Regions from separate parts of the Homo sapiens genome. Here region 2 is linked to region 1. The links are contacts of gene promoters, found by promoter capture Hi-C in blood cells and fetal thymus (Javierre and others, 2016). All regions are on one chromosome and are shown on one strand. The core of a region is centred on a gene start or on the middle of the fragment in contact, and the rest is flanking DNA. Distances in the headings are between cores, read along the strand shown.

Region 1 (4,860 bases), core at 1,657-4,156:
GACATGTAGCATGGGGGGGCATGTGGACACATGTGCATGTGTGAGAATGCGTGTGGGCTCTGTATCATAAGCAGAAGTCCGGGGAGAACCCGCACAGCTTTTCTCCAACACTGAGCAGCAGTGAGGGCCATGCTGGGGCCTCGGGGGCCACCTGCCTGCTGCAGGAGCCGGGTGCACAGCTCTGCCTGACCGCCCTGCAGTTCGAGGGGCTACCCCTCTCCTCCTCTCAGTCCTCTCCCCTACTGGAGCCCAGCCCAAGCCATGAGGCCTGCATTCACGAGAAGCAAGGTGTCCAAGGTGGACACGTCCTCTCTTTAACGCAGCGCTGGGCATGTTTATTCGTTCCCAAGCCACAGGAGCCCTTGTTTCATTCAGCGATTTGGCTGAGGAGAGGGGAATGTGTGGAAACTCACAGCTTCCACACCTTTTTAAAAGGAGCTCCCTATGCATGTGGACGAAACAGAAGTGGCAGCGTCCCCACCCCCGAGTTGGTGAATGGAGGTGGTGGCGAGGCGACGATGCCTGGAACATCCTGGCATGGGGCTGCCGGGCAGCCGGAAAGGAGACAGAGGCTGAGGGCACAGCCCCTGGCCCTAGACCCCAGCAGGCTCCTGGTGCTCCATCCAGGAAAGGGGCTCTCCCTGGAGGCCTGGGTATCGCCCTGGGATCTGCCCACAGTGCTGGCCTGAGTCCATTTGTGGTTGATCATTAAAGGCTGGTTCCCAGCCAGGCCCAGTGGCTCACATCTGTAATCCCAACACTTTGGGAGGCCGAGGTGGTTGGATCACCCGAGGTCAGGAGATCGAGACCAGCCTGGCCAACATGGCAAAACCTTGTGTCTACTAAAAATACAAAAATTAGCCAGGCGTGGTGGCATGGGCCTGTAATCCCAGCTGCTTGGAAGGCTGAGGCACAAGAATCGCTTGAACCCGGGAGGCAGAGGTAGCAGAGAGCCGAGACTGAGATCTCACCACTCAACTCCAGCCTGGGTGACAGAGTGAGACTTTGTCTCAAAAAATAAAAACAAAAATAATTTTTTTAAAAAGGCTGATTTCCCATCAGAGACAGGCAGGGCCATACAATAGCGCTCGGGGGGGTGCCCAGCCAAGCTCTGGTGGGGCGGGGGCAGAGGCTGTGCTCACAACAGGCTTCCCAGCAGGGGTTCAGGCACTAGCAGGGTCTCCTCCCCACCTCCTGCAACTTCCAGCAGGGAGCAACAGCCCAGTGACTGCCTGCTGCTCCCAGAAAGCCTCGTCTTCCCATCCCTGCCCCTGGCTGACCAGAACGTGTGCCCACACTCTTAACAGCGAAGGGTGTGTGCCTCCCTGTCTTCCCGAGAGAAGCCCCGTCCTGATGCTTCCTGGTTGGGTGTCACAATGGCCAATGGAATGTGGCTCTGGGGCTGGAGCAAGGGTGGCCCTCTATCCCGAGTCCCACTCATCGGCTGCTCCAGGCTAAGCTGGTCAGCACTCTGAGGCTGGAGGTCCCGAGACCCTGCTATGGGCCAGAGCTCCAACTCCCCACCAGTGAATCTGCCCTGAAGACATGAGATGGGTGTGGTGGCTCACATCTGTAATCCCAGCACTCTGGGAGGCCAAGGCGGGCGGATCACCTGAAATCAGGAGTTCGAGACCAGCCTGGCCAACATAGTGAAACCCTGTCTCTACTAAAAATACAAAAAAAAAAAAAGCTGGGTGTAGTGGTGCACACCTGTGATCCCAGCTACTCAGGTGGCTGAGGCAGGAGAATTGCTTGAACCCGGGAGGCAGAGGTTGCGGCCACTGCACTCCAGCCTGGGCAACAGAGCAAGACTCCATCTCAAAAAGAAAAAAAGGAAGAAAGGAAGAAAGAGAGAAAGAGAGAAAGAAAGAGGCAGAAGGCATTCAAATGAAGATCATATTTCCTTAATCACAATGTTTCATATGACCCAGCTCAAGGGGCCCAGAACCACTTCTCCATCCACCGCTCAGCCGGTGAGGGGTAGCAGAGCTGCCCAGGGTCACAGTGTGTGGTGAGGCAGTGAGGTCGGGGACCAGGAGCCCAACAAGGGCCATTCGCTGATGCCTCAGAGATGAACAAGTGGGCTGTTCCTGAGATACCTGCACTAGGCAGGGGGAGAGCGGTGCTCAGAGTGAGAAGGAAACACTCTTACCTGGATGGTCCTGCGATCTGGAGTAGACGCCACGCACCTGCGCACAAAAGACCACAGTGTGAGACACACTCAGGGAAAGCCTCCGGAGAAACCAAGCCTGTCGCCATCCTGGCCACTTGGGGACATTACCTGAAAGTTGTAATAAAATAGCAGCAGCCAGGAGTACCAGCAGCACAGCCGCAGCAGCTTTTCCATGGCTCTCTCGGAGGTCAAAGCTCGGAGCCAAGTGAAATTCCTGAGGGTCTGTGAGAACGGGACCTCTTAACCTTCACTTCCTTGGAAAAGGGACATTTTCACAGGTTCCAGGGGAGAAAATTTCTGTCTCCTTAAAGTTTGTGAAACACAGCTGTCTTGGAGACCTAATGGGTGTTTCTTCCTCGTCTCAAAACTTGAGATTCTTCAGTGATCAATAAACACGTTGCGATGACCAGAGCAGCTGTGGAATGCAGGGAGGAGAAACCCAAACCCGACTCGCAGTCCTGGGAAAGCAATCCCAGGTCACCACTGTGACCGCGACCTGCGCCCGGGGACGGGAGGCTGTTTGTCCTGCGGTATTTTCTTTTTATTTCAAGAGCCTCCGTTTGTCTCAGTCAGGTTTGGAGCTTCCCTTTTCTCTGAAGAAGGTTTTGTGCGTGGTTTTCCCCTGGAGCGCCCGCCTGCTCCTCGGGCTTGTCCTGCGGCCGCTCTCGAGCTCCTTCTGGTCTGGCTCAAGTTCACACCTCCGTCCTGCTCTCTGGGTGGAGGGGGAGTGAGTGATGTAAGTCTCTCTCCTCAAACTTTGTTCTGTTCTCCTTTTCTATTTATATCCCCACTGCTGTGTCCTTCCTGGGTCCTAACTCCAGCCTCTTAACAACAGCTGAAATATTTCCAGGATCTCAGGCTCAGAATCAAACCAAACAGACATGGTGTGTGGTGTGTGTGCGTGTGCGTGTGTGTGTTACTGATGCCTTCTGGTCAGCACCTTCAAAGTCGGCATAAATATTAATAAATACAAAATGCAAAACAAACCATAAACTCTGTTTAGATCTGAGTCTTGTTTGCCCCCAAAAGAGAATGAAGTTGACAGAGGGATGGAAAAGAGAAAGCAGCACACCCACTGTGCCCTCCATATTAAGCGCTGACCACATTTTTCTCTCTAATCCTTTCGGACGTCAGTGAAAGCTACGGAATTAATTACAAGGTACGCTGCGCAATTACACCATCCCACATATACCCCCACCCCAGCACCAGGAGGATGTTCTCAATGGGATAGAAAAGAGTCAGCCCCTTCGCCAGACATGCCTCAGTTTACCCAAGACCAAAGTTTATCCGATCTACTCCAAATACACGTGGACACACAGAGACACACACCCTAGAATTGCAGTCACAGCTATATTTGCTATGTGATTTAAGTAATATTTACCGCTTCATACTTTCTCCAACATTCACCAGCTGTGCTCCTAGGCAAATTACTTGATCTCTCTTAGTTTTCGAATTCCTCATCCACAAAATGGGGGTTAATAGTTCCTCCTCCTCAGGGCTGTAACAATAAATTAGAGGACAGATCCAAGGCTCTTCAGGCAGTACTTGGAAAATATGTGGCACTCAGTAAATGCTGCTATTTTCTATTAAGAAAAATTATCACTCAGTAAATGTTAGCTATGATTATTATTAGCAAGTATAACATAACACCCAGTAAATGTTAGCTGATACAGTTATCTCAATTGTCCTGACTTTAAATGGGAATTAAGAATCCTGAATCCAACATACTTCCTAAAGAGGATAAGAAAATGACTTCCAATCTCTGTGGGACAGAAAAAAAGAAAGTGCTGTCAAAACGTTAGGTGATTATTTTTAACTTGTGCCTGCAGCCTACAACCGCTCAGATCCTCTGATAGCCTGAGCCTCTCTGTGGAGCTGGAGAAGGGTTCCAGAGAGTTCCATCTCCTAGCAATGGAGAAACTGTGAACTCCAAAGGCCGGGGGCTGTCTGTAATAACGACCTTTATCCTGTTGCTCAGGCTGGTCGGCTTCAGGGAAAACTAATTTACAACCTTTATCTCTGCCATTTCATCAGCTCTCCAGTCCCCCACTGCCTCTCGCTGGAAGAGGTGAAGGGAGGGACAGGCAGCTGCAGGTTTTTCTCAGCTCCAGTTTTAACCTGGAAGAATTCAACAGATTGCTGAATATGCGGACCTTTCCCATCTCCATGACCGAACAAAGCCAGCATGGTTTCTTTTCATCATAAAATTGTCATCAGATAATGGGAGACACCCCGATTCAATGACTGTAATAAAAACTAGATAGCAAAGCAATTCAGCAGAGCTTGCCCTGCAGGCATCTGCACTCATCCTCAGACTCACTCTGACTCTCCATCCCGGACTACAGTCTCGTGCCTCATGCTATTTGCCTGCGTCCTGTCTCAGGCCTTGTTCAGAGGCCCAGATGAAGAGCCCGCCTCCATGTAAAGCAGCGTGTCCTGAAGCCTGGAGATTTGAGACAGGGCCTTGAGTGGTCCATGGGCCTGGAACCAAGCAACTCTGATGTCTCTGAGCATCTCATTCCATCACCCAAACGTCGGGGTGTTCGGCACCCAAACATCACCTTGACAGCAGGTCTCCCTCCCCCTAAAGCCCTCCCCTGCTGTATTTTCTCGATCCCACTAACCACGATCCAATGTACTTCATATCTTAGACGTTTATTTCATTTATTGTCAGTCTCTCCCCACCG
Region 2 (5,226 bases), core at 2,076-4,575, 860 kb before region 1:
CAGGCGTGAGCCACCGTGCCTGGCCCTGGGTTCCTTGTATTGGAGAATGGTATTAGAACTTCCCAACCTAAATATGAAACAGAAAGAGGCTCTCTAGAGGATATGTATATTTATTTGGGAGGGAATGTGTGTGCCATAGTAAACTATGTGTATATTAAGGGGGGTAAAGGAAGAAAAAGGGTTTTAAAGGAAAATGAGGACGCCATAATTGTTTTGAAATGAGAATATTAAGCCAATTATCCTTGGCTACGAGGAGGAATGACAAGATGATGCCAATCCGGGGTTGGACAGGCAGTTGCTGGGCAGATTTCCTTGCAGAAGTATTTTCTGGGCAAAGTTGTGTTTTTTGCAGTCTTTCGTGGTAGTTTTTATCAGGCATACAAGGCTGCGAACCCTCCCTTCATAATCTTCCCTGGCTGTATTTGTCAGGTGATTTTTTTTTACACTAATAACTCTATTTTGATTCTGAAAACTTTCCTATTTCCCCTTTTTAAAAATATTTTTTAATTTTTTTTTTGAGATGGTGTCTCGCTCTGTCGCCCAGGCTGGAGTGCAGTGGCATGATCTCCGCTCACTGCAACCTCCGCCTCCCGGGTTCAAGCGATTCTCCTACCACAGCCTCCTGAGTAGCTGGGATTACAGGTGTGTGCCATCACGCCCAGCTAATTTTTGTATTTTTAGTAGAAATGGGGTTTCACCATATTGTTCAGGCTGGTCTCAAACTCCTGACCTTGTGATCTGCTCACCTCAGCCTCCCAAAGTGCTGGGATTACAGGCGTGATCCACCATGCCCGGCCTCTTAAATTTTTAAAAAATAAATAAAGATGGAGTCTCCCTGTGTTTCCCAGGCTGGTCTTAAACTCCTGGGCTCAAGGGAGCCTGCTGCCTTGGCCTCCCAAAATGTTGGGATTACAGGTGTGAGTCACTGCACCCAGGCAATTGTTTTTTTTTGAGACAGGGGACTCCGTTGTCCAGGCTGGAGTGCAGTGGCGTAATCATAGCTCACTGCGGCCTCCACCTCTCAGGCTCAAGCAATCCTCCCACCACCATCTCACAAGTAGCTAGGACCACAGGTGTGCACCCCCAGACCCAGCTAATTTTTAAGGTTTTTTTGGCAGAGGCAGGGGTCTCACTATGTTGCTCAGGCTGGTCGTGAACTCCTGACCTCAAAAGATCCTCTTGCCTCAGCCTTCCAACGCACTGGGATTACAGGTGTGAGACACTGTGCTTGGCTATATTTCCCCCTTTGATCAAGATCTTTCTCAGGCAGCCAGATGTGGTGGCTCACGCCTGTAATCTCAGCACTTTGGGAGGCCAAGGCGAGTGGATCTCGAGGTCAGGAGTTTGAGACCAGCCTGGCCAACATGGTGAAACCTCATCTCTACTAAAACTACAAAAATTGGCCAGGCATAGTGGTGCGCGCCTGTGGTCCCAGCTACTCGGGAGGCTGAGGCAGGAGAATCGCTTGAATCTGGGAGGTAGAGGCTGCAGTGAGTTGAGATTGCGCCACTGCACTCCAGCCTGGGTGACAGAGCGAGACTCTGTCTCAAAAAAAAAAAAAAAAAAAAAAGCCAGGCAAGATGGCTCATGCCTATAATCACAGCACTTTGGGAGGCTGAGGCAAGCAGATCACCTGAGGTCAGGAGTTCGAGACCAGCCTGGCCAAAATGGTGAAACTCTGTCTCTACCGAAAATACAAAAATTAGCTGAGCATGGTGGTGCGCGCCTGCAGTCCCACCTACTTGGGAGTCTGAGGCAGGAGAATCGCTTGAACCCGGGAGGCGGAGCAGAGGTTGCTGTGAGCCGAGATCGCGTCACTGCATTCCAGCCTGGGCAACAAAGTGAGACTCCATTTAAAAAAAAAAAAAATCTTTCTCAGGCATCACTGATCAGTCTTCCTGTACTTAGCTTTTTTGTTTTTTGTTGTTTTTTTGAGACGGAGTCTCACTCTGTCACCTAGGCTGGAGTGCCGTGGCACAATCTCGGCTCACTGCAACCTCCGATCCGCCTCCTGGGTTCAAGCGATTCTCCTGCCTCGGCCTTCTGAGTAGCTGGGATTACAGACGCCCGCCATCACACCCGGCTAAGTTTCGTATTTTCAGTAGAGATGGGGTTTCACCGTGTTGGTCAGGCTGGTCTCAAACTCCCGACCTCAGGTGATCTGCCCGCCTCAGCCTCCCAAAGTGCTGGGATTACAGGCGTGAGCCACTGCACCCGGCCCTGAACTTAGGTTTTGATGTCCCAGGGATGTCCTGGTTGCTGGTCTTTCCCCACACCGGGTGGGGTTACGGTGGGTGGTGACTAGGAGTCAATGTCAAAACCCTTTTAGCCACAGTTGAGCAATAGGGGAGGTTTGGAGGGTGTGGTGCCTGGGCTGAGGCCCCCTGGGGCCCGTTACTGAGTTCAGTTTTGTCTGCTTTGGAGTCTCTTGCTGTCATCTCGACGCGCTGGGCCAGCATGATCCTGCGAGGAGTTGTACTTCAAAATTTAACAAGGAACAAACGCAAAGCTTCAAAAGGGGAAATACAAGGTAAAATTAATAGTAATGTGGCAATCCCAGTTTGCACAGTGGCTTTGTCACGAACCCAGCCGTAAAGGCAACCAAGGGAATAAATCAGATAACCTCACGGTGGGTGAGACCGGCTGCGACCCTGTGGCCTGTTTTCTTATTTTGTGCATGTGGGTCTCAGCTTTCCCAGAGGAGTTTCTCCAGGTGCAGCGTGTGGTGGCAGCAACAGCACAGGCATTTCCTTACTTAACCAGAAGAGACTAAGGGATCTCCTGGGTCAGGTTCTGTGGAGTTCCAGCAGAAGCCGCGGATCGTGGAAGTTCAGCGACACCACCGTCCTGCCCCGTGGGAGAGGTGGGCATTGAGATGGGTAAGAGCGTCATCATGACAGGAGTCCTGTTCGCCGGCGTCTAGGGAAAGCCGTCTACAGCATGAAACGTCCTATTCGCGACCTGGTTTGCAGTTCGAATGTCTCTGACTATGGCATTGGGAGGTACAGTGAACTTTTGTGTGGCCCACACATCAGACGCAAGGCTTCTTTTGGAGAATTCATCTAGTTTTAGCTGATAGGACTTCAGGAACAGAGAAGTTTCCATTTTTAGTAATTCTATGGAAGAAAGTTAGATTCGATGAATCCAGAAGAATGTAGGTGTTATGCGCGTCTGTATAAGAGGCCACCTAAACAGGCTTAGTGTGAGCAACAAGGCTGTTTATTCACTTGGGTGCAAGGGGGCTGAGTCTGAGAAAGGAGTCAGAGGAGGGTGGTGGGCCTATCATTGGTTCTTATAGGTTTGGGATAGGATAGGCGGTGGAGTTAGCAGCAATTTTTTCGGGCAGGGGATGGACGTTACAAAGTACATTCATAAGGGTGGGGAGGGTGTATTGTCACAGGGGCGGGGAGGAATGTTACAAAGTACATTCACAAGGACGGGGAATATCACAAAGTACATTATCACAAGGGTGGGGGAGGACAGGAATTTTTTTTTTTTTTTGACGGAGTCTCTCTCTGTCGCCCAGGCTGGAGTGCAGTGGCGCCATCTCGGCTCACTGCAACCTCCGCCTCCTGGATTCACGCCATTCTCCTGCCTCAGCCTCCTGAGTAGCTGGATTACAGGCGCCCAGCACCACGCCTGGCTAATTTTTTTTTTCTGTATTTTTTTAGTAGAGACAGGGTTTCACCATATTGGCCAGGCTGGTTTCGAACTTATGACCTCACGTGATCCGCCTGCCTTGGCCTCCCAAAGTGCTGGGATTACAGGCGTGAGCCACCACGCCCAGCCAAAAAATATCCTGTCTTACATGTTGTTAGATTCCTTTGGGGGTTCAGTGCTATTTCCACCTAATACAGGTCTGTAGCAATGTCAATGTTCAACCCCATCCTGGGTGGCATGGGATCACTCTTCATGGTTCACACCTTGTAAAAACCATCAGTCGTCATCTTTTTGTAGGTTTGACAAACGCTCTTTCGAATCCAGAAAAGTCAAGTAGAGAAGGAAAGTAAGGGGCCACTTACTGTGCCTCGAATCACAAGACCGCGGTGGACCAGCCTGGTTAAGACCTGTGGATGTCTTCAGCAAGAAACTTGGAGAGGCCCCTAAAGATATCGCCAGAGAGAAAACAAAGAAAGCTTCAGTCGCTCCTTCCTAAGCTGTCACGACTACTCTTTTAAATGGCCCCATGCTTGGATTTCTGTCACCACGACTGGGGGAGCCTGGGCGAGTGTGCTTTCCCTCACTGCACCTCCCATGGGAGCCCAGGCTGCTGCGCCGTCCTCAGACTGTTGGGATGATGAGCGGACGGTGAACTCCCACCACCTGCGCCTGTGAAGGGAGCTCCGGTTGAGGGGCTTTGCTGGCTTCGGGTCGGGGGCTGCCGTAGTTCTGTGTTGGGGAGATGGTGTGGACTGCGGCAGAGCCAAGCCTGAGCCCCACGCCAGGATGAGTGGAGTGCCCGGAAAGCATTCTGATTTCCGGCCTGGCGTGTCTTCCTTCCATTACACTGAAAGTTTTACCCAACAGCTCGTTTAAGTTTTTTTTCTTTTTGAGGTGGGGTCTCGCTCTGTCGCCCAGGTGATCCTCCTACCTCAGCCTCCCAAGGAGCTGGGACTACAGACACACACCACCACATCCTGCTCTTTTTTTTTTTTTTTTAATTTTATAGAGATGGAGTTTTGCCATGTTGTCCAGGCTGGTCTCAAACTCCTGAGTTCAAGCTATCCACCTACCTCAGCCTCACAAAATGCTAGGATTACTGGTGTGAGCCATCATGCCTGGCCAAGTTTTGTTTTGTTTTGTTTCTTTAAATTTTAAATTTAATTTGATTTTTAGAGTTGGGATCTTGCTCTGTGGCCCAGGCTGGTCTCGAATTCTTAGCTTTGAGCCATCCTCCCACCTGGGCCTTCCTAAGCAGTGGAATTACAGTTGTGAGCCACTGTGCCTGACCTCACTGAGGTTTTTATCACAGAATGATAACAAAAGCGCCATGCCCACAGTTTTGTAGGTAGTGAGTGCTGTTGCTAGGACATGCTCCTGGTTAGTTTGGCTTCAGATACTGTATTTTTCCATGTTTCTACAGTGAGCCTGGCCTTGTGTGACTTCTGTGAAATATCCACTTCTCCACCCTCTTTGTTCTCTGCCAGTTGTAATTTCTTGAGTCATTTCGTTTTTGTTGCAGGAAATCAGGTTTTTTTTTTTTTTTTTTTTTTTTTTGATGGAGTC

What was found. The method cuts DNA at HindIII sites, captures the fragments that hold promoters and counts their contacts. A CHiCAGO score of 5 or more calls a contact.
Region 2: a contact is called between a fragment that was not itself captured here and the fragment with the promoter of ADGRD1 in region 1, in 1 of 17 cell types (monocytes). The highest score is 5.1, in monocytes.

Annotation. Positions count from the first base shown.
Region 1 is chr12:130,951,953-130,956,812 of GRCh38, reverse strand. It overlaps ADGRD1 (adhesion G protein-coupled receptor D1), which reads right to left and starts at 2,906. Exons shown (of 25, transcript NM_198827.5): 1 at 2,282-2,906; 2 at 2,153-2,189. The coding sequence starts at 2,347. The HindIII fragment of the contact is 10,485 bases long and covers 1-4,860 here.
Region 2 is chr12:131,816,556-131,821,781 of GRCh38, reverse strand. It overlaps LOC105370088 (a long non-coding RNA gene), which reads left to right and starts at 2,180. Exons shown (of 3, transcript XR_007063536.1): 1 at 2,180-2,530; 2 at 2,691-3,002; 3 at 3,958-4,524. The HindIII fragment of the contact is 1,627 bases long and covers 2,512-4,138 here.